Regions from separate parts of the Homo sapiens genome. Here region 2 is linked to region 1. Evidence: promoter capture Hi-C in human tissues and cell types (Jung and others, 2019). All regions are on one chromosome and are shown on one strand. Each heading gives the region's core, a stretch centred on a gene start or on the middle of the fragment in contact. The rest is flanking DNA. Distances are from core to core; before and after follow the strand shown.

Region 1 (3,257 bases), core at 386-2,885:
ATTCAAGTCAACAAAGGGGTTCTCTGTAAAATGCTGTGTTGAATAAAATGTGAATGAGCTTTGGTTTTCACTCTCAAGGCATTTATGATCTAACTTAGTAGTAGTTCTGTCTAACTCTAATACAAAATAGGGTGTGTTACGACAGCATAGAAGATAGATGGATTTATTCCACATTAAAGGACTGGACACTACTTCATGGGCAAAAGGAATTTGAACTAGCCCTTGAGATGGTGAAGGAGAGTGGTTGGGAGGACAAATACGTGCTTTCCAAGCAGAAATATTAACATAAGTAAAAATATGGCAGCAAAACATTTTCTGGAATGTTCAGGAAAAAGTGTACAAGATGAATGAAAACAGCCAGAAGTGAGAATGTACAACTGTGTCTGGAAAAATAGTAACCCAATTCAGAAGGCTAGAGAGAAGGGCTCAAGTGAGGGAACGGGAGGAAAAGAGGTTTGCCAAACTTGGAGGTAAGGCTTTGAAAGGTTGTGTAATGAGCTTGACATCCACACATCCAACATTCCTAAAGAATTCCAATTATAACTGAGACAATATTATGACATTAATACCTGACCTCGACTAGTCACTCGATTGTGTTAACAAATCTTCAGTTTGCAATGAGGCCAGATTGACATAAGTCAATCATTATAAGAAAAGAAGTCACAATGATCAGGATTTTATCTTAAGGAATAAGCTTGCAGAAAATCCTTTCACTGGAGACTGAGAGGCTGTCATTCAGGACTTCCTCAGCTTTTTCCATGGAAGAGAGTACCCAACTTCCTCATTCGGAATTTATCTACATAGGTTATTAAGCTACTCAATGAAATATTTTGACCAAATGTTTATGAAAAATTTTTCTGTTTTATTTAATTATTCTGCTTTTTTATTTTAATTTCAAGATCTTTTCTATCCTGATAGAGAAGAATTTCTATCAATAGAAAGGATTTCAGGAACCTTTCTCTATCCTGATTGCCTAAAAAATACACTGGAGACAGAAAAAAAAAATCATTGTATAAAAGGTAATTAGCACGTTCTCTCCTTTTTATAACTTTATAATTGAAATCTCATTAAAAGCTTTCTAGGTCTGTATTTCCCTAAGTGACCAGGTGTCCCTAATTTGTTTTCAACCAATGTGACTAATTCCAGGCAAAGACTAGAAAAAGTCTGATACCTGTTAGAGAATAGCAAGGTTAAATAAGTGGGGTGGCTTTTTTAGGTTGCATTTAACCTCGTAAAATAAAGAAAGGAAAAAAAAAGCTTCAATGTCTTTTTACAGTCCTGCCTTTTTCTCAGTCCCGGTTGAAGATTCCATGGGAAATGAGAGCACTATTTTGTTTCTCCCTTGTATTGCAGATAGGGGGAGGAGGTGGTTATTAGAGAGAAGCTCTTCCTCTCTTGGTTTCCCCCTCTCTCCGCCTGACAGCACCGCTCTCTCGCAGGCTCGCTCCTTCTCCTAGGTGATCCATTTCTAGGCAACGTGGGGCTGGTGCTGAAGCTGCCAGGCTCGCTCCTTGCTTCCTGCATCCCGCCAGGCGAAACGCTCCAAAAGCATCCTGCAGCCTGCGGCGGCTTCCCTCCTCTGGCCCGGCCCCGCTGCTCGCGCCCGGCGCAACCCCCCCGCCACCGCGCCCCAGCAAACCGGCTCCCCGGGCCCGCCTCGCCAAGCTGCGTTCCGCGCCTCACGCAGAAAGGGAATTTTCTCTGCATTACTATCTGCATTACCTTGAAGTTCACTTTTTCTACCCCTCTTGGAGAGGGCTTTTTTCCCCCCTCCCTGGTGGAATCTGGCTGCTCCGTTTGGAATCTCCTAATCTTTCCTTTCCACTTAGATTCTGGCAGCGAAGACCAGTGATTCTCTGCGGGCTGTAGGGGCGGGGGCGGGGGTCTTTTTTGGTCCGAGAGGGTGCGGGGAAGGGGGCACATCCGGCGTGAGGGGGGTGTTGGAAGTTGCAGCGGAGCTGGGACCGGAGACCCGCGGCCCCCGCGCAGCGATGGGTCTGATCTGAGCCCCAGCCTCTCCCCCTGCCCAAGAGCAGTAGAGGCTGGATATATTTTTCAAAAGCCAAACTGCAAACAACTCTGGCGATGCCAAAATTCCCCTCCAAGTGACACGGCTTTGCGAAGGAGGTTTCCTCAGGCTGGGCTCTTTCTGTCATTCCCTTCTGCCTTTCTCGGCGACGATAAAAGGCTTTGCTCTGGCAATAGGAATTTAGAAAAAAAGAAAAAGCTGCGCTAAACTCCACCGTGACCTCAAACTCTTTGGACTGTTTGAAAAAAAAAAAATTGGAAGAAAATCCATCCTCCAAGAGAATCGGCATAGGAGGAGATGGAAGTTTTCCCCTTTCTCTTGGTTTTGTCCGTCTGGTGGTCTCGAACCTGGGACTCGGCGAATGCGGATTCGATCATTCACATCGGTAAGAAAGTGTTGGTGCAGCTCGTGGTTACTTTTACCGTTTCAGTTCTCAAATGTTTCCCCTTCGCTTTCCCCCTCTCCGGTCTCTGTGTGTCTTGTTGGAGGTGGCTTCAGTTCATTGCCCCTTCCCGCTACCCTTCCCTCACACTTGCTCAGTTTTCTGAAAGGATGTGGATGCTCGAACCTCGACTGACTTGTGCTGTTGTTTTGCAGTGATTCGTGGAATGTGGCTGGATGCGTGGGGGTCTCGAGTTGACCTGAGTGTGAGTGTGTGCTGGGAACTGCAGGGGGATTCTAAGTGTGTGGGGAAAGGGAGTTTAATTGACTCTTATCTTCCATATTTTTTTTCCCGGATGTACATTTGCTCCATTTAAAAATTTATCTTTGGGGGAGCAGAGAAGCTGTCACCTGTGAGATGAAAAGAACTGGGCTGGGGGGTAGGGGGAGCTCCCTTCGGATCGAACAGGTGGTTTTGCAACGTGAGCCGGCTGAGTTCGCCGCAGCTTAGTGCGATGGTGACGGGGGTGCCGGATGCGCCCCCAGCCACCCTCTCTTCTCACATCTTCTTGGCTTTATGATCCTTGCGTGTAGTCTTTGAGACGGTGGCAGGAGGGGCTGGCGGCAGTGTCGCCAAGGACTGATTGTCGCGTGCCTCGCCTCCTCGGACACGCTCCCGGGGCCTGGCGCGGCGGCGAAACTGACCCCGGGGCGCTTGGGAAACGCGGGGAAGCGAATGCGCGCAGGCTGCTCCCGAGGTCTGCTTAGCAGATATCCGCCTTGCCTCGCCTCGCCTCGCCTCGCAGTCAACTCCGAGTAGCCGCGCAAGGCAGACAGCGAAGGCGCC
Region 2 (3,257 bases), core at 299-2,798, 880 kb after region 1:
TCCTCATAGTAGCTGGTGAATTAATGAATTGATTTTAAAATATAGTGTAACAAACCCTAGTTTATCTTAATAAAAATCCTTTGTAAGAATAGAATTATTTCCAATATTTACAAAATATGGTAGTCCATGAGATTATCAAGAAGTAGGCTTAGAAAAAAAGGATTTAATAAATTTCACAAGTGTTTAAGAAACTTCTTACCAAAATAAGCTTTCTATTTGGCCTGTCACATTGGAATTCAAATGGCATTGAAATACTTCCAGTTCCCTTTAAACTTCAATGTAAAAATTACATTTTTAGTGTTTAAAATGAAGTATATCTGATAATGGTCTTCTCCAAATCTAATCTAAATGGTAGATTCCTTAAACTACCTCATGCAGGCCTATTTAATTTCCTCTTAAATTGTCAAAATCTATTTTTTAGTTGAACTCATTGTGTAGATCACTTTAACAGCTTTTTTTCTGAAAATATCTAATGATGTTATACCTCTATACATACTCCATTAACTTAAAAAAATGAATTTAGAACTCTAAATGTGTGATTTTTATGTGTGAAAAGATTCTTACTTAGGCAAACTATATTCTATTATCTTTAAAATAGACTGCATTATCAATTCAAATGTATAACTGATCAAATTAGAAGAGAGTGATCAAAAATAGTCATATAGGCAACTCCTAATTAATATTAGATTTAACTTTCTCTCTACTTCAGTTATGTAGAAATAGTGGTTTAAAGATAATGCTACATTATCAGAAGTCAAAATAGTTTTTAAAACATGCCTACAGGCATATTTTTCAAGTTTCCTTATTGTTCTGAAGACATGGCTGCTCAAATCTGGATCTTCAAATATTTGAATTATCAGAAACTTCAAGATTCTACACCCAGACATCACCGTCCTTATAAACAATTTATCACTTTAGAATTGTTGCCAAAGCCTAATAAAAACTCTAATCCTCTCTAGAGAAGGAACCTTGATTTTGTCTTTTTCTTCTCCAGTGCAGTAGTTTTCAGAGTGTGTTCCCTGAATCAGCATCACCTGGCAAAGTGTTAGAAAGCAAATTCTTGGGCACCAGCCCAGACCTACTGAATCAGAAGTTCTGGGAGTGGCGCCCTACAATTTATGTTTGCGAAGCCCCGCAGGTGTTTCTGATGCAGTATAAAGTTTGAGAAAGACTATACTGGCCTTAGGATAATATCTGGCATTCACAGGTTCTTTTATTCATCAACTGAGCAGAATTAAATCAAAATGAGTAAAATAAAGTAAATCAGGTGCCTGATATAAGGAACCAGAAATTCCTAAAATTTAGTTGCCTGAGGCAGAACTACATAAACACATAATATCTCAATTTTCACTGATTTCCAGTTTACTAATTAAAAAAAAATGAGGTGATCCATTTGGGTAAAATTTTTTAAAAAACTCTAACTTCACAAAATGTTTGACAGTCTTTTTACCTTTTATCCATGTCTGTCAAGCTTATTAAATTGAAGATAATACTAAACAGAATGTCATGAGTTTAAAATAATGATTTTATTATCCCCCTGTAAAGACATAACCATGTTTTCTTCAATACTCAAAAATGATAGCATTGACCCTCAATCAATAGATGTTTCACGTGTGATGAATTTGTTCTACTACATCTAAAGAGTCCCTGTAGCTACTAACAGCACTCAATAGAGGGTCCATTAGGGATTCTTCATGGCACCCAACTGATACATTCATTCAAACAACTACTTAGTAAGTGCCCACAAGGTACTTAATTACTGCCAGACATTGAACAGGATACAAGGCAATGTAGGGCAATTCTGTTCTCCAGGATTCTATAATGTGGCCTGGAATTAAAAGTAAAGAAAAGGAAAAGGGCCACACATTTTTCTCATACCATCATGTGCCAGGCACTGAATAGAGCAGGAGAAATAAACTATATCAGTAAATCCATGTTACCACTCAGGGAAGTTGGCTTCATTCCCAGATTACAAATAAGGAAACAATAGTTTGAGAGATGCTGAGAACTTGTTCAAACTCATCAGGTAAGAAACAAGGGAGGTAAAATTTAAAATCAAAACTGATTTTTAAGTGTCCACTGTACCTTACACTATATCAGTTCTTATATAAAAAATCAGCAGCAAGTCTTAGAGGAATACAATAAATGCCTAAATGAATGATGCACATTATTTGCTGTAGGGCGATTAGAAAAGGAGCAGTAACTGTGGATGAGGAAGTGAAGCCTTCCCAGTAAAAGTTCAACACAGATCTTCATTGAAAGAAAATGGTTTGTAGCTTGGATAAAGGAAAGAAGTAAATGTATTCCAGATGGGAAAAACTGTTAAACAGAAATGTGTAGTCAGGAACAAGAAAGGCAGGTTCCAGTAGAGTGGCAAAAATCAGCTCAGCACATTTAGTTGCCAAATAAATGATGTAGAATGGCTTTGCTTGGCTCTAGCTATGCATGAAGGCACACATTTTAACAACGAAAGGGGAGTGGTGAACAGTGCCACTTAGCTTTACTTAAGTGGTGTATTTACTGCCTGTGTCCGTGTACATTCAGTCAAGGTTTTGAAGTGCCTGCTTCTTTTGGCTCTAATTTTGTATATGCATTATCTTTCTTCATGTAAGTGATCATTCTGCTCCTCTCCTCTGCAACCAACAGGATTAGTTCACTTTAGCCATATTATTTCTCAAAAAAAAAAAAAAAAAAAAAAACTCACAGGTACTCTTTCATATATTTCTCAAGTCCCTACAGCTGAACAAGTTCTTAAAAATATCAGGTCTCTGGCCGGGTGCAGTGGCTCACGCCTGTAATCCCAGCACTTTGGGAGTCCAAGGTGGGCGGATCAAGAGGTCAGGAGTTCGAGACCAGCCTGGCCAACACAGTGAAACCCCATCTCTACAAAAAATACAAAAATTAGCTGGGCGTGGTGGCGTGTGCCTGTAATCGCAGATACTCAGGAGGCTGAGACAGGAGAATCACTTGAACCCTAGAGGCAGAAGTTGTGGTCAGCCAAGATTGCACCTCTGCACTCCAGCCTGGGCAACAGAGCAAGACTCTGTCTGAAAAAAAACACAAAAAACAAAATAACAATATCCACTCTCCCAGGTACTTATTTGTAGTTACTATAATGTGCCTGAAAGACACAAGTTCTACCATGAGTAATTCAGTATTCATTCAACTTGAATAACTACAGGGTTAGGAGAGTCATTTTGAAAATGGTTAGGATTATTAGTTAGTGTTAAGAAAATATTTTTAGATAGTTATGGTAG

What was found. The method cuts DNA at HindIII sites, captures the fragments that hold promoters and counts their contacts. A contact is called where the count stands out against the background at its distance.
Region 2: a fragment that was not itself captured here is called in contact with the fragment with the promoter of GRID2 in region 1 in 1 of the 25 tissues and cell types used here (dorsolateral prefrontal cortex).

The regions. Positions count from the first base shown.
Region 1 is chr4:92,302,331-92,305,587 of GRCh38, forward strand. GRID2 (glutamate ionotropic receptor delta type subunit 2) reads left to right here and starts at 1,636. Exons shown (of 16, transcript NM_001510.4): 1 at 1,636-2,414. The coding sequence starts at 2,327. RefSeq lists a silencer at 3,168-3,257. The HindIII fragment of the contact is 11,112 bases long and covers 885-3,257 here.
Region 2 is chr4:93,181,832-93,185,088 of GRCh38, forward strand. The region is part of intron 4 of GRID2 (glutamate ionotropic receptor delta type subunit 2); the gene reads left to right. Among named protein-coding and RNA genes, the nearest start is that of ATOH1, 650 kb to the right of the region's middle. The HindIII fragment of the contact is 5,008 bases long and covers 1-3,257 here.